Linked DNA regions of Homo sapiens: all the other regions are linked to region 1. The links are contacts of gene promoters, found by promoter capture Hi-C in blood cells and fetal thymus (Javierre and others, 2016). All regions are on one chromosome and are shown on one strand. The core of a region is centred on a gene start or on the middle of the fragment in contact, and the rest is flanking DNA. Distances in the headings are between cores, read along the strand shown.

Region 1 (5,094 bases), core at 1,565-4,064:
TGCCCGTGACAGCCTCAGGAAATCCTGAGACATATACCCAAGGTGGTCAGGGGTACAGTTTGCATTTAAGTTTTAGGGAGACATGAGACCTCAATCAATATGTGTAAGATGTACATTGGTTTGGTCTGGTAAGACAGGACAGCTTGAAGCAGGGGCTTCCAGGTTAGAAATACATAAGAGACAAGGCCAGGTGCAGTGGCTCATGCCTATAATCCCAGCACTTTGGAAGGCTGAGGTGGGCGGATCATGAGGTCAGGAGATCCAGACCATCCTGGCCAACATGGTGAAACCCCGTCTCTACTAAAATACAACAACAACAAAAATTAGCCGGACATGGTGGGGCATGCCTATAGTCCCAGCTACCTGGGAGGCTGAGGCAGGGGAATCACTTGAACCTCAGAGGCAGAGGTTGCAGTGAGCCGAGATTGTGCCACTGCACTCCAGCCTGGGCGACAGAGTGAGACTCTGTCTCAAAAAAAAAAAAAGTAGATAGGAGACAAAAGATTGCATTCTTTTGAGTCCTTGATCAGCCTTCCACTGAATACATAATTTTATTTATTCAGCTCTGTCACCCAGGCTGGAGTGCAGTGATATGATTCTGCTCACTGCAACCTCCACCTCCCAGGTTCAAGCGATTCTTCTGCCTCAACCTCCAGAGTAGCTGGGATTACAGGCGCCTGCCATCACAGCCAGATAATTTTTGTATTTTTAGTAGAGACAGGGTTCACCATGTTGGCCAGGCTGGTCTTGAACTCCTGACCTCGGGTGATTTGCCCGCCTCAGCCTCCCAAAGTGCTGGGATTACAGGCGTGAGCCACCGCGCCCAGCCATTTTTTTGTATATTTTTAGGGATAAGGTTTTGCCATGTTACCCAGGCTGGTCTCAAACTCCTGACCTCAAGTGGTCCACCAGCTTCAGCCTCCCAAAGTGCTGGGATTACAGGCGTGAGCCACCGCACATGGCCCCAAGAGGACTTTACATCTTCTCTGGGTTGCAGATTAACAGGCACGTTCATTCTGCCAAGTTGCTTCATTTTCTCACACGCTCACTGAGCCCTCCACGAGCCAAAGATGGGTGGATGTGAAGTCTGGAAATCCAGAAATAATTCAGATCAGAGCCCTGCCACTGAGTGACTCCTGGCCCATGGAGAGAGCTCTGGACAGCTGTGAATCTCCCTGACTGGGCAGATGTGACAGCTGCAGGAATGGGAACCATGTGACCTGGGAGTATGGGCAAAGGATTCCACCTGCAGAATCCTGTAGGAATGGTTATTCATCTGGTTTTTCTGCCTAGCCACAGCGTGAGCAAGTTGAGAGAAAGCACCTTGTCTTACACATCCTCATCCCCTCTCTTAGACATAATGGGCCTTAAAAATCTGTGAGTTCGTAGTCCTCTGGCTGCTTTCTGCTTCCCTAGGAACAGCCCTCCTAGTGGCTAGGGGCAAAGTTTTAAAAACACAAAACCCAAACTGGCAGAACAGATAAGTACTTTAGAGTCAGGTAAGTGTGGGTTCTTTTTTTTTTTTTTTTTTTTTTTTTGACAGGGCCTAGCTCTGTCACTCAGGCTGAAGTGCAGTGGCATGATCTCGGCTCACTGCAACCTCCATTTCCCGGGCTCAAGCAATCCTCTCATCTCAGCCTCCAAGTAGCTGGGACTACAGGCGTGCACTACTGTGCCCGGCTAATTTTTGTATTTTTTTTTTTGTAGAGGCAGGGTCTTACTATGTTGCCCAGGTTGGTCTCAAACTCCTGAGCTTAAGCAATCTGCCCGCCTCAGCTTCCCAAAGTGCTGGGATTACAGGCGTGAGCCACCACACCCAGCCAGCTGTGGGTTCTGAGTCGGTTTCACACTGACTAGCTGTGCGGTGTGACCTCAGACAAGTCACGTTATGTTTCTGAGAGTCTTCGTCAGTACAAGAGGGTAATACTATTTACACAGGTTTGTTTATAGAATTAAATCAGGTGACCCCTGTAAAGTCCCCACTGTCTGGCACTTGGGTGGCCTTAGGTAAAGCTTAACTCCTAAATTATTCCTTTCAAAACAGTGATTTGCCCTACTTGAAGGCATTGCGGAAAGATAATGGTAAAAATTAAATGTAATAGACAAACTCTCAGTAATGACCCACCTGCACTCTTTCCAACCAGTGGGCATTTACTGAGCACCCACCTTCTGGGTAACAGGCCTGGTGTCCAGTGCTGGAACGGTGGAGAGGAGCTCAGAGTTTCAGAGCTGAAAAGTCAGCTCCAGGAGAGCAGGGACTTCTTGTTGGCCACTGTATTCCCAGCTAGGTGCTCAGTATTTGTTGAATGAATGAATGAATGAAAAATACAATCCAGCGGGCCTCTGACTCATTTTTTAAAACTTGAGCCAAGTCCCTTGACCTCTCTGAGCTGGTGTGTGTCCCCATCAGTGAAGCCAGAGATGTTTAAGTCATCTAGAGGTCCTGCCAAGCAGGATTAATAGAGCAATAATATTAATAATAGCAACAATCATAACTAAACATATGGAGCACTGCTATGGAGGGAATAACATGTTACGTCCACGTTATAGAAGAGGAAACTGAGACACAGAGAAGCATGAAAGGCTCCTGGAGGGGGGGTTTCATGATGTTTTGGAAGAAAGACTAGGGATCGGACGGAGTCATAGAGAAGAGGATCCACAACCCAGAGGAAAAGGCCTAGTCCAGAGCCACCGCGCGGCGCAGGCTGCGGACGTTGTAGGAGGGACGAACGCCTCCCGGAACCCGCCCAACCCAACCTCCGGCGTCTCCATGGCAACAACCTCCGCACATGCGCCGCGCGCACCTGCGCCGGAGCTGCCAGCACGCGCAGAAGGCGGACGCAGGCGGGGCGGAAGTGGGCCCGGCGGGCTGGGGCGGCGGGAGTGCGGGTGGGCGTTTAAAGGGGCCTTCGGCACCCAGGTCGGTTCGCCGCCGGGACTGCTGACGGGGAGGGCTAGGTAGCCCTGGGAGTCGGGATCTAGAAGGTAGAGGAGAAGCGGGGCTGTCTGACCCCCGGAGGTGACAAGGGGAGAGGGGCTGTGTGAATACCCTCCATGGGCAGTAATGGGATGACTATCCCCAGGGAGCATTGCGAAGGAGAGAGGCGGCTGAGGGACTGCACTTTCTGGGGCCCCCCGGGAGAGTCAGAGGGCAGTTAAGAGGGATCACAGGCCCGGCTTGGTACTGTCACTCCCCTTCCCACTCCCTGCTCTCAGCATTCTGTCACCTCCCTACCCCGTCGCGGTGCCCAGCCATGGCCAGACCTCCCGTGCCCGGTTCGGTGGTTGTCCCAAACTGGCACGAGAGTGCCGAGGGCAAGGAGTACCTGGCTTGCATTCTGCGCAAGAACCGCCGGCGGGTGTTTGGTAAGTGCCTCCCCCTTTCCTCTAGCCCGCCACTTGTCTTTCCCTGGGGAGAAGAGTGTCACCTGTTGCTCCCTGAGGAGAGCAGAGAGGCAGGGCAGTGAGGGCCTGCTCCACTGCAGTCTTCAGCAGTCTTCAGCCTGGGGGACTGAAAGCCCTAGCTCTGGGACCCCCACACCTAAATCTCCTTAGAGCTAATTCCATCGTCAGAGCCAGGAACATGGAAACAGCAGAAACCTTGCCAGCAACCACTGTCACCAGAGATGCAGTTGATTGAGCACTCCCCTGGTGCCAGGCCCTCTGTTGGGCACGTTACACAGTGCACGCCCATTTAACCTCTCAACAGCACATGGTACAGACTTGGCTAAGATCACACCCCAATAAATAGAGGTGAGCCTCTTCCATGTCCTGCTGTCTCTGGGATGAGACGCTGGTGTTCCCCATGGTGAAACTGACTCACCCAGGCAGGGCCCAGCTGTCAGGCCGGCAGAGGTGCCTGGAATCAGCTGTGGAGCCCAGCTCTGGCCAGGAGAAGCAAGGTGCCAGAAGACTTAAGACCAGAGAGTGAGATAGCTAGAACCAAAATTTGTGAATAAGTCAACTGTTTGTTTGTTTTTTTAAAAGAAATTATATTAAATTCAAAAAATGACCCTCTAGAAGGCTGGGCGCAGTGGCCTGTAATCCCAGCACTTTGGGAGGCCGAGGTGGGCAAATCACCTGAGGTCAGGAGTTCAAGACCAGCCTGGCCAACATGGCGAAACCCCATCTTTACTAAAAATACAAAAATTAGCCGGACGTGGTGGCGGGCACCTGTAATCCCAGCTACTTGGGAGGCTGAGGCAGGAGAATCGCTTGAACACAGAAGGCAGAGGTTGCAGCAACCCTAGATCGAGCCATTGCATTCCATCCTGGGTGACAAGAGTGAAACTCCGTCTCAAAAAAAAAAAAAAAAAAAAGACCCTCTAATATGGCCACTGTCCCTCTAATCCCATGATGGCTGGCAACACTGTATTTGGGGTCACACATACCCAGGCAAGTGACCCAGGCTCCACCACTGCTAGCTGTATGGCTGGGAATAAGTGAACTCTAGCCTCAAGTCCCACCTCTGTAAAATGGGGATAATCACAGTATTTACCCCATAGAGTTACTGGGGAAATTAATAAGGAGGGTGTTTGTAACATACCAAGCAGGTTCTGGCATGCAGTGGGTGTTCACTGAAGGTTGGCTGTTATTGTATTTATTTTGCATTTAGTTGTGTTGAGTGGAAGAGAATTGAGTGAAGGTTGAGCTGATTTTCTGGGAACATCATAGAATCCACTGACCATATTATCTATGCCACAGATAGGATTAAGCAGCCATAACTTAGAGGAATGGCAGTGATGGCTTTTAATTTTTGTGTTTTTACTTTAACTGCAGACATTTGGGTTTTTTTTTAACAGCTGGGTTTATGCACCTGAATGTATCATTCAGTGGTTGTCATGCAGGCCCCACAACAAACGCTGAGAGCAGCTAGTAAATAAATATCAACAGACTGACTATAATGCTTAGGCTAGTCTCTTTGTATCCCAGACTTCTGTAAAATTAGGTTGAGTATTAAGAGCCACAGATGAGGCCGGGCACGGTGGCTCACGCCTGTAATCCCAGCACTTTGGGAGGCTGAGGCAGGCAGATCACCTGAGGTTGGGAGTTCGAGACCAGCCTGACCAACATGGAGAAACCCCATCTCTAAAA
Region 2 (5,094 bases), core at 1,255-3,754, 410 kb after region 1:
AGGTGTTTATTAGATATCAAAGGGAGACGCTGGTGGGCTATTGGATATATGGGTCTTGATTTAGGAGGAAGTTCTGGAGATGTATATTTTTATATATGCCCTTTTTGTATATTATGTATATTTGTGTGTGAGAGAGTTATCCTATATATAGCTAGCATTTAAAAGCCTCAAACCGGATGAGATCACTAACATAAATATAGAAGGAAATAGGATAAAGGAAGCCCTGAAGCACTCCACTGTTAAAAGGTCTGAGAAGAAGGTTTGCAAAGCAGGATGAGAAGGAACAACCAGTTAGGTCGGAGGATAACCAGGAAAGGGTGGTGTCCAGGAAGTCAAGAAAGTGGAGCAGGTGGCCTGGCAGGGTGGCTCACACCTGTAATCCCAGCACTGTGGGAAGCCGAGGCAGGCATATCACTTGAGGTCAGGAGTTCGAGACCAGCTGGCCAATGTGATGAAACCCTAACTCTACTAAAAAAACACAAAAATTGGCCAGGTGTGATGGCTCATGCCTGTAATCCCGGCACTTTTGGAGGCTCAGGCGGGCAGATCACCTGAGGCTGGGAGTTCGAGACCAGCCTGACCAACATGGAGAAACCCCTCTCTACTGAAAATACAAAATTAGCTGGTTGTGGTGGCGCATGCCTGTAATCCCAGCTACTTGGGAGGCTGAGGCAGGAGAATCGCTTGAACCTGGAAGGCAGAGGTTGCGGTGAGCTGAGATTGTGCCATTGCACTCCAGCCTGTGCAACAAGAGTGAAACTCCATCTCAAAAAAAAAAAAAAAAAAATTAGCTCGGCTTGGGCAGGGCTCGGTGGCTAACGCCTGTAATCCCAGCACTTTGGGAGGCCGAGGCGGGCAGATCACGAGGTCAAGAGTTCGAGACCAGCCTGACTAACATAGTGAAACCCCGTCTCTAGTAAAAATACAAAAATTAGCCGGGAATGGTGACGCACAGGAATGCTGGCTCGACAGGCTGAAGCAGGAGAATTGCTTGAACCCGGGAGGCGGAGGTTGCAGTGAGCCGAGATCGCACCACTTCACTCCAGCCTGGATGACAGAGTAAGACTCGGTCTCAAAAAAAAAAAAAAAAAAAAGTGAAGGGAATGGTCAACTATGAAATGCTGCTGAGAGATTAAGCTGAGGCATGAAAATTGAGTGTTGTATGAATAAGTGGAAGTCATGGGTGACCTTGACACAAGCTGTCTGGGTGGAGTAGGAGGCAAAAGCTTGATTGGAATGGATTGAAGAAAAAAAAAAAAAAAACAGTAAGTATGACCTTTGGAAAAGTCTGACAGTGAGGCTTAGAGGGGAAGATGCCAGAGACTGTGATGTTGGAAAGTACCTTCTGTTTTAGGAAGTTCCTGGGTCAGTGCAGCAAGAGGGAACTCAAAACCTTAGGGCTTCTGGAGGAATTGTTACACTCCCAGGATGTGGTCTCCTTCTACCCTCATATCTGCTCCATGATAACATGAATAATAAATTATTTCTTGGCTGGGAGAACTCCAGCTCAAAAGATCCTGCTGCCTCTGTCTCCCAAAGTACTAGGATTACAGGCGTGAGCCACTGTGCCCGGCTGTATTTTTCTTTACTTTTTTTTTTTTTTTTTGAGACAGAGTCACGCTCTGTCACCCAGGCTGGAGTGCAGTGGCCTGATCTCTGCTCACTGCAACCTCTGCCTCCCAGGTTCAAGTGGTTCCCCTGCCTCAGCCTCCTGAGTAGCTGGGATTACAGGCATGTGCCACCACACCCGCTTAATTGTTGTATTTTTAGTAGAGACGGGGTTTCACCATGTTGTCCAGGCTGGTCTCGAATTCCTGACCTCATGACCCACCTGCCTTGGCCTTCCAAAGTGCTGGGATTACAGGCGTGAGCCACCGCACCCAGCCATAATTTTCTTTTTAAAAGACTTTCTTCCCCCATATTGGACCCTGCTCTAGTTCTACCACATCCCAGTGAACAACAGTGAAATAAAAAGATTGTCTACGTGCTTAATTTGAAAACGTGGGTTGGGCACGGTGGCTCACACCTGTAATCCCAGCACTTTGGGAGGCCGAGATGGGTGGATTGCCTGAGGTCAGGAGTTCAAGACCAGCTTGGCCAACCCGGTGAAACCCCATCTCTAATAAAATACAAATATTAAGGTTGGTCGCGGTGGCTCATGCCTGTAATCCTAGCACTTTGGGAGGCTGAGGCAGGCAGATCACCTGAGGTCTGGAATTCAAGACTAGCCTGACCAACATGGAGAAACCCCGTCTCTACTAAAAATACAAAATTAGCTGGGCGTGGTAGCTCATGCCTGTAATCCCAGCTACTCGTGGGGCTAAGGCAGGAGAATCACTTGAACCCAGGAGGTGGAGGTTGCAGTGAGCTGAAATCGTGCCACTGCACTCCAGCCTGGGTGACAGAGTGAGACTCCGTCTCAAAAAAAAAAGAAAAAAAGGAAAACAGATATATCACTTTGGGGTCAAGCTCCACCTTCAGAATTTCATAAATTTTTTTTTTTTGAGACGGAGTCTTCCTCTGTCACCCAGGCTGGAGTGCAGTGGTGCAATCTCGGCTTATTATAGCTGCAGCCTCCCAGGTTCAAGCAATCTTCTGCCTCAGCCTCCCAAGTAGCTGGGATTACAGGCATGCGCCACCACAGGCGGCTAATTTTTTTTTTTTTTTTTTGAGACACAGTCTAGCTCTGTCACCAGGCTGGAGTGCAGTGGCGTGATCTCGGCCCACTGCCACCTCCACCTCCCAGGTTCAAGCGATTCTCCTGCCTCAGTCTTCTGAGTAGCTGGGATTACCAGCACGTGCCACTGCGCCCAAGTAATTTTTGTATTTTTAGTAGAGACAGGGTTTCACCATGTCGGCCAAGATGGTCTCTATCTCCTGACCTCGTGATCCGCCCACCTCAGCCTCCAAAGTGCTGGGATTATAGGCGTGAGCCACCGCGTCCAGCCTCATTTTTGTGTTTTTTAGTAGAGAAGGGGTTTTGCCATGTTGGCCAGGCTGGTCTCGAGCTTCTGACCTCCAGTGATCTGCCTGCCTCGGGCTTCCAAAGTGCTGGAATTAGAGGCATGAGCCACCCAACCCAGCTCACCTTCAGAATTCTATGTACTGATAAATATAATCAAAAGTCAAGTCCAGGCTCGGTGGCTTACCCCTGTAATCCCAGCACTTTGGGAGGCCAAGGCAGGTGGATAACCTGAGGTCAGGAGTTCAGGGCCAGCCTGGCCAACATAGTGAAACCCCATCTCTACTAAAAACACAAAAAATTTCCTGGGTATGGTGGCACGCCCCTGTAATCCCAGCTGCTCCGGAGGCTAAGGCAGGAGAATTGCTTGAACCCAGGAGGCAGAGGTTGCAATGAACAGAGACCACACCATTGCACTCCAGCTTGGAAAACAAAAGTGAAACTCCCACTCAAAAAAAAAAAAAAAAAAAAAAACAAGTCAAAATGTGTATTTTCTTTTTTTAATCATCCGGCTCAGCCTCCTGAGTAGCTGGGACTACAGGTGATGCCACTACACCCGGCTAATATTTTGTATTTTTGATAGAGATGGGGCTTCTCCATGTTGCCCAGGCTGGTCTCCAACTTCTGAGATCAGATGATCCACTCACCTGGGCCTCCCAAAGTGCTAGGATTACAGGCGTGAGTCACTGTGCTTGGCCAATTTGTATTTTCAATGTATTACTTTATCATTCTTTATTGGAACATGTGATTAAATACAGATATAAAGTATCATGTATATTTTATCCTGCAACATTTATGCCTAATAGCTATTGAAGCTTTTTTTTTTTTTTTTTTTTTTGAGATGGAGTTTCACTCTTGTTGACCAGGCAGGAGTGCAATGGCACGATCTCTGCTAACTGAAACCTCCACCTCCAGGATTCAAGCAATTCTCCTGCCTCAGCTTCCTGAATAGCTGGGATTACAGGCATGCGCCATCACGCTGGGCTAATTTTGTATTTTTAGTAGAGATGGGGTTTCTCCATGTTGGTCAGGCTGGTCTCGAACTCCTGACCTCAGGTGATCCCCCTGCCTCAGCCTCCCAAAGTGTAGGGATTACAGATGTGAGCCACCGTGCCCAGCCAACAATTTTTTTTTTTTTTTTTTTTTTGAGATGGAGTCTTGTCACTCTGTCGCCCAGGCCGGAGGGTGATGGTGTGATCTTGGCTCACTGCAGCCTCAACCTCTAGGGTTCAAGCCATTCTCCTGCCTCAGCCTCCCAAGTAGCTTGGACTATAAGCATGTGCCACCACACCCAGCTAATTTTTGTATTTTTGGTAGAGGTGGGGTTTCACCATGTTGGCCAGGCTGGTCTGGAACTCCTGACCTCAGGTGATCTGCCCGCCTTGGCCTCCTAAAGTGCTGGAATTACTGGCGTGAGCCACTGCGCCCAGCCCACAATTTTTTATTTTTTGATATTTGTCACTTTGGATGAAGCCTAGCAGTAGTATATGGTTAAGTGTACATTTTCTAATTATTTATGAAATGTTGCTCTCCAGCTTATGTAGAATAAGGTCTTCACCTGTTTTTCCTTTGTCCTAGCACACACTATACTTCTGTCATTTACATTGATTTATACTGGTAGTGATTGAGGGATTGGATTCAATTTTGGGGCATTGGGAGGCAGATGTTGCAGTGAGCTAAGATCACACCACTGCACTCCAGCCTGGGGGACAGGGAGAAATTGGGGGTGGTTGAGGAAAGCTGTCTTCTGAAATGGAATATCAGGATTTCGAGGGATTCTGAGATATCCCTTGAATTACCTACTTCGTGGGACCTTTCTCACTCCTCCTAAGAATCACTGATGTGGAACTTAAAATACAGCTGAGGAAAAATCATTTCTTTTCTTTTTTTTTTTTTGAGACGGAGTCTCGCTCTGTCGCCCAGGTCACAGAGTGCAGTGGTGTGATCTCGGCTCACTGCAAGCTCCGCCTCCCGGGTCCACGCCATTCTCCTGCCTCAGCCTCCGGAGTAGCTGGGATTACAGGCGCCCGCCACTAGGCCCGGCTAATTTTTTTGTATTTTTAGTAGAGACGGGGTTTCACCGTGTTACCCAGGATAGTCTCGATCTCCTGACCTCGTGATCCACCCGCCTC
Region 3 (5,094 bases), core at 1,044-3,543, 400 kb after region 1:
AGGACAGGATAGTTATCAGATTTTAACAAGAATTTGGTTACAAGTCAGGTCCCAAGCTATTAAAATTAAGCTGTTTCAGGAGAAAACATGCACTTAAAATATAAGCATTTTGGCCGGGCCTGGTGGCTCACGCCTGTAATCCCAGCACTCTGGGAGGCCGATCATAAGGTCAGGAGATCAAGACCATCCTGGCTAACACAGTGAAAACCCATCTCTACTAAAAATACAAAAAATTAGCCGGGCATGGTGGTATGCACCTGTAGTCTCAGCTACTCGGGAGGCTGAGGCAGGAGAATCGCTTGAACCCGGGAAGCAGAGGTTGCAGTGAGCCCAGATCACGCCACTGCACTCCAGCCTGGGCAACAGAGCGAGACTCTGTCTCAAAAAAAAAAAAAAGAAAAAAATATATATATATGCATTTCTTCTTTTTTTATTTTGAGACAGTCTTGCTCTGTTGCCCAGGCTGGAGTGCAGTGGCGTGATCTGGGGTCACTACAACCTCCACCTTCCAGGTTCAAGAGATTCTTGTGCTTCAGCCTCCTGAGTAGCTGGGACTACAGGTGCCTGCTACCACGCCCGGCTAATTTTTGTGTTTTTAGTAGAGATGGGTTTTCACCATGTTGGCCAGGCTGATCTCGAAACACTGACCTCAAGTGATCCACCTGCCTAGGCCTTCCAAAGTGCTGGGATTACAAGTGTGAGCCACTGCGCCCAGCCCAAAATATAAAAATAAAATAAAATATATATAAAATATAAAAAAAATTCTTCTTTTTTTCTTTTGAGATGGAGTCTTGCTCTGTCGCCCAGGCTGGAGTACAATGGTGCCACCTCAGCTCACTGCAACCTCCACCTCCCAGGTCCACACGATCCTCCCACCTCAGACTCCCTAGTAGCTAGGACTAAGGTGCACACCACCACACCCAGCTAATTTTTGTATTTTTAGTAGACACAGGATTTCACCATGTTGGCCAGGCTGGTCTGGAACTCCTGACCACAGGAGATCCACCTGCGTATTTCTTCTTAAAGGCATCATATAAAATATATAAAAGGCATCATATAAAATCATATAACTGGCCAGGCACAGTGACTCATGTCTGTAATCCTAGCACTTTGGGAGGCCGAGGCGGGTGGATCACAAGGTCAGGAGTTCAAGACCAGCTTGGTCAAGATGGTGAAACCCCATCTCTACTAAACATACAAAAAAATTAGCCAGGTGTGGTGGCGGGCGCTTAGAATCCCAGCTACTCGGGAGACTGAGACAGACAATTGCTTGAACCCAGGAGGCAGAGGTTGCAGTGAGCCAAGATCGTGCCAGTGCATTCCAGCCTGGACGACAGTGAGACTGCATCTCAAAAAATAAGTAAATAAAATAAAATAAAATAATATAATATTAACTAGCTATAAAATGAACAAAGCCCCAACCACATGAGAATTTGACAATACCAACAAACTCGTACTATTAGAACCAAATTTTTTCCCCAAAATAACAGAAAATAAAACGCAACACCACTGTAATATTATTAAAGGGTGTTTGATCTCGGCAGTGAGCCAAGATCGCGCCATTGCACTCCAGCCTGGGCAACGAGCGAAACTCCATCTCTAAATAAATAAATAAATAAATAAATTATCAGAACTCCAAAGAATTGAAAATATTAGCTAGCTAGTCCTCTAGTTCTTTTTTTTTTTTTTTTTTTTTTTTTTGAGACAGGGTCTCCCTCTGTCGCCCAGGCTGGAGTATAGTGGTGCAATCTTAGCTCACTGCAACCTCTGCCTCCCAGGCTCAAGCCATCCTCCCACCTAGTAGCAGAGTCTACAGGCGCACACCACCAGGCCCAGTTAATTGTTTTTGGTATTTTTTTGTAGAGGCGTCTCCATATTGCCCAGGCTGGTCTTGAACTCCCGAACTCAAGGGATCTGCCAGCCTTGGCCTCCCAAAGTGCTGGGGTTATAGGTGTGAGCCACTGCACCCAGCGCAGATCCATTCTTTAAGCAAGCTAATACTTTATAACAGAGCCAGGCACGGTTGGCTCACGCCTGTAACCCCAGCACTCTGGGAGGCCCAGACAGGTGGATCACCTGAGGTCAGGAGTTCCAGACTAGCCTGGCCAATATAGTGAAACCCCGTCTCTACTAAAAATACAAAAATTAGCTGGGCATGGTGGCATGCACCTGTAATCCCAGCTACTCAGGAGTCTTAGGCAGGAGAATCACTTGAACCTGGGAGGAAGAAGTTGCAGTGAGCCTGGGCAACAGAGTGGACTCCGATAAAAAAAAAAAACACTTCATATGGTACTTTACTGTTCAACCCTCTAAGAAAGCTAAATAATTTATTCCGTGTTATTTTTAGTTTTTCAGAAATGAATATACTGGCTGATATATTTTTAAATCAGTTCTTAAGTTTCTACCATTGTTTATTTCTGGAAAGTTGCTAAAAGTAACATTTTTCCCCCTGTGAGGAAATACTGGCAATATACTTAATACTAAGAATTACTAATGCAGTTTACCAATATTTGTGTAATTGAGTGGAAAATAGACTGGAAAGATATTTGCAAATGTTAATCATGGTTAATGCCTATGTGGTAGAATTTGAATTTTTTAAAAAAATTTTATTCCTGGCTGGGAGCAATGGCGCATGCCTGTAATCACAGTACTTTGGGAGGCTGAGGCCAGTGGATCACCTGAGGTCAGGAGTTCGAGACCAGCCTGGCCAACATGGTGAAACCCCGTCTCTACTAAAAATACAAAAATTAGGGCCGGGCGCGGTGGCTCACGCCTGTAATCCCAACACTTTGGGAGGCCAAGGTGGATAGAACACAAGGTCAAGAGTTTGAGACCAGCCTGGCCAATATGGGGAAACCCCGTCTCTAATAAGAATACAAAAATTAAGGCCGGGCACAGTGATTCACACCTGTAATCCCAGCTACTCGGGCGGCTGAGGCAGGAGAACTGCTTGAACCCAGGAGGCAGAGGTGGCAGTGAGCCAAGATCACACCACTGCACTGCAGCCTGGGCAACAGAGCAAGACTCTGTCTCTAAAAAAAAAAAAAAATTATCTGGGCAGGGTGGCGTGTACCTCTAATCCCAGCTACTTGGGAGGCTTAGGCAGGAGAATCGCTTGAACCCGGGAGGCAGAGGTTGCAGTGAGCTGAGATCATGCCACTGCACTCCAGCCTGGGTGACAGAGCAAGACTCCATCTCGAAAAAAAAAAAGAATACAAGTGCCTGGCACGGTGGCTCACACCTGTAATCCCAGCACTTTGGGAGGCCGAGACGAGCGGATCATGAGGTCAGGAGACAGAGACCATCCTGGCTAACACGGTGAAACCCCGTCTCTACTAAAAATACAAAAAATTAGCCGGGCTTGGTGGCGAGTTCCTGTAGTCTCAGCTACTCAGGAGGGTGAGGCAGGAGAATTGCTTGAACCTGGGAGGTGGAGGTTGCCATGAGCCGAGATCGCGCCACTGCACTCCAGCCTGGGCAACAGAGTAAGACTCCATCTCAAACAAAAAAAAAAATTAGCCGGGCATGGTGGTGGCCACCTGTGATCACAGCTACTTGGGAGGCTAAGGCAGGAGAATCACTTGAACCCGGCAGGCAGAGGTTGCAGTGAGCCGAGATCAAGCTACTGCACTCCAGCCTGGGCAAAAGAGTAAGACTCCATCAAAAAAAAAATTATTCCTCTATATTTTCTAAGTTTTTCTTTGGTTAACAGGTATTACTTTTATTTTATTATTCTTTGAGATCGGGTTGCTCTGTTTCCCAGGCTGGAGTGCAGTGGTGTGATCACCTTACTGCAGCCTCAACCTCCTGGGCTTAAGCAATCCTCCAGCCTTAGCCTCCTGAGTAGCTGGGACCACAGGCCCATGCCACCACACCCGGCTTTTTTTTTTTTGAGACCAGGTCTCACTCTGTCACCCAGGCTGGAGTACAGTGGTGCAATCTTGGCTCACTGCAATCTCCGCCTCCTGGGTTCAAGGGATTCTCCTGCCTCAGCCTCCTAAGTAGCTGGGACTACAGGCGCACACCACCACACCCAGCTAATTTTTGTATTTTTAGTAGAGACGGGGTTTCGCCATGTTGGCCAGGATGGTCTCAATCTCCTGACCTTGTGATCCTCCCGCCTCGGCCTCCCAAAGTGCTGGGATTACAGGCGTGAGCCACTGGGTGCGGCCCCCTAAGTTTTTGTCTTTTTTAAAAGAGATGGTGTCTGACCATATTGCCCAGGCTGGTCTGAAACTCCTGGTCTCAAGCAATCCTCCAGACTCAGCCTCCCAAAGTGCTGGGATTATAGAAGTGAGCCACCAAGCCCTGTCAGGTATTGCTTTTATAATCTGAAATTAAAAAGTTATAATAAAATGACTTGGGCCGCTCTCGGTGGCCCACACCTGTAATCCTAGCACTTTGGGAGGCGAAGGCAGGTGGATCACCTGAGGTAGGGAGTTCAAGACCAGCCTGACCAACATGGAGAAACTCCATCTCTACTAAAAATATAAAATTAGCCAGGCCTAGTGGTGCATGCCTATAATCCCAGCTACTCAGTAGGCTGAGGCAGGAGAATCGCTTGAACTTCGGAGGCAGAGATTGCAGTGAGCCAAAATTGCACCATTGTACTCTAGCCTAGGCAAGAAGAGCAAAACTGCGTCTCAAAACAATAAAAAATAAAATAAATGACTTTTGGAAGTCAGCATCTGGGTCACTTTAGCTAAGGGTTCCCCTGAAATGTTGATAGTTAACTGCATTAAATTACATATATATTAACAAATCCCACATGAACAAAATGTTATTACTCTCTATGTTAACTCAGATATTTTATTTAACTTTTTTTTTCTTTTTGAGAGAGTGTCATTCTTTCACTCCTGCTAGAGTGCAGGGGTAGGATCATAGCTCACTGCAACCTCAAACTCCTGGGCTCAAGGGATCCTCCCCCTCCAACCACCGGACTACAGGCGAATGCCATGGTGCCAGGCCCTCACTCAACCTTTTAAGACCCTACTGGTAATCTCCATTATTAAAAAGCTTAACTGTTTCACCATAAGTGATAATCACATTAGCCAAAACACCCAGGCCTAGGAGATTGTAACTTCTGTAACATCA
Region 4 (5,094 bases), core at 886-3,385, 280 kb after region 1:
TTTTTCTTTTGGCTTGAATTCTTGATCTTCAAGAGCATCATGGGCCATCCGGCCCTTCCTTTGTGATTGTTCTTCTTCCTCAGTGAGAGCCTCTTTGCTCCTGCAGTCCTTGTGTCCTTTGTAGAAAGAAGGTGGCGGTTACCATCAAGTATTAAGCATTTATGCCTTTGATTCTGATTCCTGTCGAGTGGAGTAAGCACTGCAGTGTGGGGGGCCTTTTCCTGGTCTTTTTTCAGGTTGAAACTTGATGGGTGCCCTGATTACTGATGAGATTTTTACATCCGTTTTCAGAAGATAGGATAAGGATGACAGCATTGGGCTCTCTTCTTTCTATATAGTTTTTTTCTTTTTTAAAAAATTAAGAACAAGTTCAAGCCAAATGTTTTCTATAATTTATCAGCCTTGCTGGCTTGGGTTTATATGTAATGATAGAATGATGATGGCCAGCAGTAGCTTTATGAAGAAGAAACTTTTGTCATCATCTCCATTTTACAGAAGAGGAATTGAGGTGCAGAGATTGTGCCTGCAGAGATTGTGCAGAGTTAAGTGCCTGCCTGAGGCACTTAACTAGCTTCGGCTGGATTTGGAGGTAGGAGTGTTTTAACTGGGTCCTGGGAGCAGCAAGCCCCCCACAGTTGCGTGTTGAATTGCGTGTGCATGTGTCCCTGGGAGAAGGACTTCAGTGTCGTCGCAGTGTCAGGGGGCTTCCTCTGTTTGAGCACGAGGACACCAGCTGTGGTGCTCGGGGCGTCCCCTCAAGGAATTTCTGCTCATATTGTTTTCCTGAGTGATACATTGATTCTCTGTGCACATTACCACAATTTTCCATTTCCCTCATGAGAAATTTTTTCCTTTGAGAAGTTTTCAGTCACTAGGTCTTGTAGAAAATGTCTTAAAGATTTTATGATAGATAGAAATAAAGGACTTAGGTCTCTGACTTTGCAGGCATTTATTTTCTTTCTTTCTTTTCTGTCTTTTTTATTTTTATTTTTTGACAGAGTTTTGCTCTGTTGCCTATGCTGGAGTGCAGTGGTGTGATCATAGCTTGCTGCAGCCTCAAAACTCCTGGGCTTAAGTGATCCTCCCACCTCAGCCTCCCAGATAGCTGGGACCTCCCTCCCTCCCTTCCTCTCCTCCCTCTCCTCCCTCCTTCCCTCTGTCTACTCTCTCCCTCTCCTCCTTCTCTTCCCTGTTGCTTCCTCCTTTCCTCCCTCCCTCTCCTCCCTCCCTTCCTCCCTCCCTCCCTCCCTCCCTCTCCTCCCTCTTCCTTCCCTTCCCTCCTCTTTTTCTCTCCATTGTTCTTTAGCTTTCTCAGTTTTAATTTTTTAATAGATAGTGTTTACAAGTGGTGAAACAGCACAGAAAGGATATATAGTGAAAAGTTGAGCTCCTTCCCCACTTCCCCTGCTCCCCTGAGGGGCTTCTCTTTACCAGTTTTGTGTATACCCTACAGAAATGTGGACGTTGTCTTTTAAAAATAAGTAAAATGTGTACATTCTTAGCCTGGGCTCATAGTTTTGGACAAATGGCATGGCCCACCTTCCACTGGGAAGGGTCAGGTACTAAATTTTAAGAGACTTTGAGCTACTCCAAGAAGAGGTGCTTAAAACTTTTAGAGGATTTAATAGTATTTAGTGGGAAGGCCACTGGTTCAGGCTGCCAGAAAGAATCATGTAAGTGTGTGTTGGATTCTTGGCACCAGCTAAACCCTTCTAGGGCCACCTGGGGGTGACATCATCCCATTTTTCCTATCCCAAGGGTCCAGCCCAGTGGGACTTCATCTCCCCCTTTCAAGTCCCAGTGTGACTCCTGACTGCCAAGGTTGTCACTGAGGCCTGGTGTGGTGGTCCCAGCCCAAGTGCCTAGCCCCAGCCTGGCCCTCCAGCTGTGTTTCCCATCACTTTGTCCCCTCCCTCCTGTGTGCTGGGGCATGATCCCCCTTCTCCACCTGGCCCCTCAGCCATCATTGCTTATGCTGTCCCCTGCCCAAAGGTCTTTCTTGCCTTCGTCTGTCTTTAGGTGTGGTCACGTCGTCCCAGGCTGGCGCTTCGGCAGCCCCCATTCAGCACTCATCACACTGTCCTTCTGCCCCAGTGAAGGTCAAGGGGCTGGGGCTCAGACCCAGCCTTATCCCAGGGCCCCTGGCACTTTGCAGTGGACTTTGAAGTAAACCTCCACTCCACCATCCCCTCAGCCCACCAGTTATGGAGATTGGACCCCCGAATCCCTCTATATTGAAATTGAGTTCCCAGGCCTTCTGCCCTGAGTTGCTCCATAACAAAGGCCTGACGGTGGAAGGCTGCAGCCAGAGAGAAGCAACACCTGTGTGTTTTTTTTTTTTTTTTTTTGGTCGTATTGGACCAGGCTGTGGCTCTGTTAGCTTCCGTCAGCCGCCTTCCCAAGGCTTTGGCCAGCTGCTGTCCTGTTTGACAGGGGCCCTGTGCTCCCCTGGTGCAGGGAGGTCACTTGGGATCATCTGGTTTGTTTTTGTTTTATTAGTTCATCATTTCCCTTTTGTTTTAACTGTGTTTCAGTCACAGAGCTGTGTTAGAGAAGTAATATCTAGTTCTACTTTTGCCAATATTTGGGCAACACTTCCTATCTGCTAGTTGTCTCATTGCACACTCGTATTTATGGTGGTTTTCCTATTTTACAGGTGAGCAATCTAAAACTCAGAGATGCTTGCCTGAGGTCACTGTGTTAAGTTTGGAGCTGGGATTCTGAGTCCATTGGTTTCTTCTCTTGTTTATCCAATACCTGCTTCCATGGATATCTTGTTCCACCTTGTGGCTTTAATTACCGTCTCTACAAGCAGACATCTCAGCTGTAATTGGCCAGAACAGAACTCTGATTCCCCCCACGGAGTCTCCTCCTGCCACTCCTCCTCCTCTCAGGAAGCGGCACCGCCACTGGGCCAGTGTCTCCGGGCACAGATCTTAGTGTCATCCTTGACTCCTTTCCTTCTGTCACAACGCACATCTGCTTGATCAGCTAATGGTGTTGGCTCTGCCAAAACATATTCCTAATATAACCTCTTCTCGCCTGTTTTCTACCTCCTTGGTGAGGCCACTGCTGTCTCTTCTCTACTGTAGTAGCCTAACTGGGGCCCCTACTAAGCCTCCTTGCGGTCTGTCTTTGCACTGCAGTCAGAGGGGCCTTTTAGGAACCTCACTCTTCTGCTCTTTTCTGTCACTCTTCGTCACTCCCAAGGCATCCCAGTGCACTTAGAAGAAATCCAAAGTCCGCTGTGTCCCTGAGACCCTGGGCGAGCTCAGCCCCTGCTGCTGTCATTCTCATGCACACCTGCTCCTCTCCAGATACACCGGCCCCTGTGCCACACACCTCCTCCTCTCCACACACACCGGCCCCTGTGCCACACACCTCCTCCTCTCCACACACACCGGCCCCTGTGCCAAAGTCATGCCCGCCTCAGGGTTTTTGCATCTGCTCTTCTCATGTCTGTGATGGTCCCTGGGCATACAGTGGCCTAGCTCCCTCTTAAACCTCATTCAGGTCTTTGCTTAAATGCCACCTCCTCTGAGGTCCCCCTTGCCTCCTTTATTTTTACTTTTTTTTTTTTTTTTTGAGATGGAGTCTCTCACTGTCACCCAGGCTGGAGTGCAGTGGCACGATCTTGGCTCACTGCAACCTCTGCCTCCCAGGTTCAAGCATTCTCCTGCCTCAGCCTCTTGAGTAGCTGGGATTACAGGCACCCACCACCATGCCCGGCTAATTTTTTATATTTTTAGTAGAGATGGGGTTTCACTATGTCGGCCAGGCTGGTCTTGAACTCCTGACCTCGTGATCCACCCGCCTCAGCGTCCCAAAGTGCTGGGATTACAGGCGTGAGCCACTGTGCCCGGCCGCCTCCTTTCTTAAATAGTAAATAGCCCCTGCCTCTCGATCTGCTCAGCTTGCTTTAGTTTCTCCACAGCACTTGGTAGCTGCCATTGTTTATTATACCCATTTATTACCTGTCTTCCCCACTCAGTTTGAAGTTCTAACATAGTACCTAGGACAAACACAAGGTAGACTCTCATTAGACATTTGTGAAATTCATTAGTCCTCTCTCTCTATGTATCTGTTTCCTAATTTATAGGCTGAGCACCCCTAAAGGGCAATGCAATAATTATGAGTAGATGAGCAGCTGTATCACCCCACTGATTTTCTCTATATTGGGGAAATTTCTCATCCATGTACATAGAATTGTTGCTTAAATGCCTTTGTGATTAATGGAATGGACATTCACTTTTTCATAGTGGCTTTTTTCTATTATTTTATCAGTTAACAAGCACCAGAAGTACAACTGTCATTTCATAAGGGTCTAGGAAATACTTTGACATTGTGTTAGTCATTCTCAAAAAAGCCAGGGATCTCTGCTCTCAACAGGCCTGTTCCCTACTTGATCTGTAACCACTTGAAAGCAGGGTTCTGGGTAATGTGCTATAAACAGCTGTAAGGAAGAAATAAGAAGTAGCCCCACCTTGCAGTGAGTTTATTAAACTGGTAGGAGAGAGGAGGTGACACACTGTGTCATTTAAGGTGGTGTCAGTGCCATTGCTTGACACTTGGGAAGTATTTGTGGCTGATGGGTGTGTGTGCCTTGGGGAATGATCAGGTACTGCCCAAGTCCCAGATGTCGTGATTTTGTCTTTTTGGCAGGAAGGCCCCTTAATTTACCCTGTGTTGAGCTTTACAAGTCCCTGGTATGCGTACTAGCACAGTGGATTCTAAGCTGGCCTGGGCTGCTGGAATCCTGGACAGCTCTTTTTCAGGGCCTGCCAGCCTTCCCTTTTGTGCATAGTCCTAGAGCAGTGGGGTCCATCAGGGATCAGGCAGAGGGGTGTCTGCCCCCTCAAAAGTGTGGCTAAACTTTAGTTGTGGATGTTGATAGGGTCTCCCTCTGTCACCTAGGCTGGAGTGCAGTGGTGCAGTCATAGCTCACGCCCAGCTAATATTCTAATTTTTATTTTGTAGACATGGGGTCTCACTATGTTGCCCAGGCTGGTCTCAAGTTTCTGGCCTCTTTAAAGTGATCCTCCAGCCTTGGCCTCCCAAAGTACTAGGATTACAGGTGTGAGCCATTGCACTTGG

Evidence for each region. Contacts are between HindIII fragments. The CHiCAGO score rates a contact against its expected background, and 5 or more counts as called.
Region 2: a contact is called between a fragment that was not itself captured here and the fragment with the promoter of CPLANE2 in region 1, in 1 of 17 cell types (activated CD4 T cells). The highest score is 8.6, in activated CD4 T cells.
Region 3: a contact is called between a fragment that was not itself captured here and the fragment with the promoter of CPLANE2 in region 1, in 2 of 17 cell types (non-activated CD4 T cells and naive CD4 T cells). The highest score is 6.2, in non-activated CD4 T cells.
Region 4: a contact is called between a fragment that was not itself captured here and the fragment with the promoter of CPLANE2 in region 1, in 1 of 17 cell types (fetal thymus). The highest score is 5.6, in fetal thymus.

What each region holds. Positions count from the first base shown.
Region 1 is chr1:16,234,903-16,239,996 of GRCh38, reverse strand. It overlaps CPLANE2 (ciliogenesis and planar polarity effector complex subunit 2), which reads left to right and starts at 2,814. Exons shown (of 5, transcript NM_030907.4): 1 at 2,814-3,366. The coding sequence starts at 3,255. RefSeq lists a silencer at 2,757-2,936 and an enhancer at 2,777-3,321. The HindIII fragment of the contact is 3,895 bases long and covers 2,016-5,094 here.
Region 2 is chr1:15,822,185-15,827,278 of GRCh38, reverse strand. No RefSeq gene overlaps it. Among named protein-coding and RNA genes, the nearest start is that of UQCRHL, 17 kb to the right of the region's middle. The HindIII fragment of the contact is 2,551 bases long and covers 1,229-3,779 here.
Region 3 is chr1:15,838,764-15,843,857 of GRCh38, reverse strand. The region is part of intron 1 of SPEN-AS1 (SPEN antisense RNA 1); the gene reads left to right. Among named protein-coding and RNA genes, the nearest start is that of SPEN, 6.4 kb to the left of the region's middle. The HindIII fragment of the contact is 5,451 bases long and covers 1-5,018 here.
Region 4 is chr1:15,955,670-15,960,763 of GRCh38, reverse strand. The region is part of intron 2 of ZBTB17 (zinc finger and BTB domain containing 17); the gene reads left to right. It overlaps LOC124903855 (a long non-coding RNA gene), which reads right to left. Exons shown (of 3, transcript XR_007065486.1): 3 at 1-5,094. Among named protein-coding and RNA genes, the nearest start is that of ZBTB17, 18 kb to the left of the region's middle. The HindIII fragment of the contact is 9,724 bases long and covers 1-5,094 here.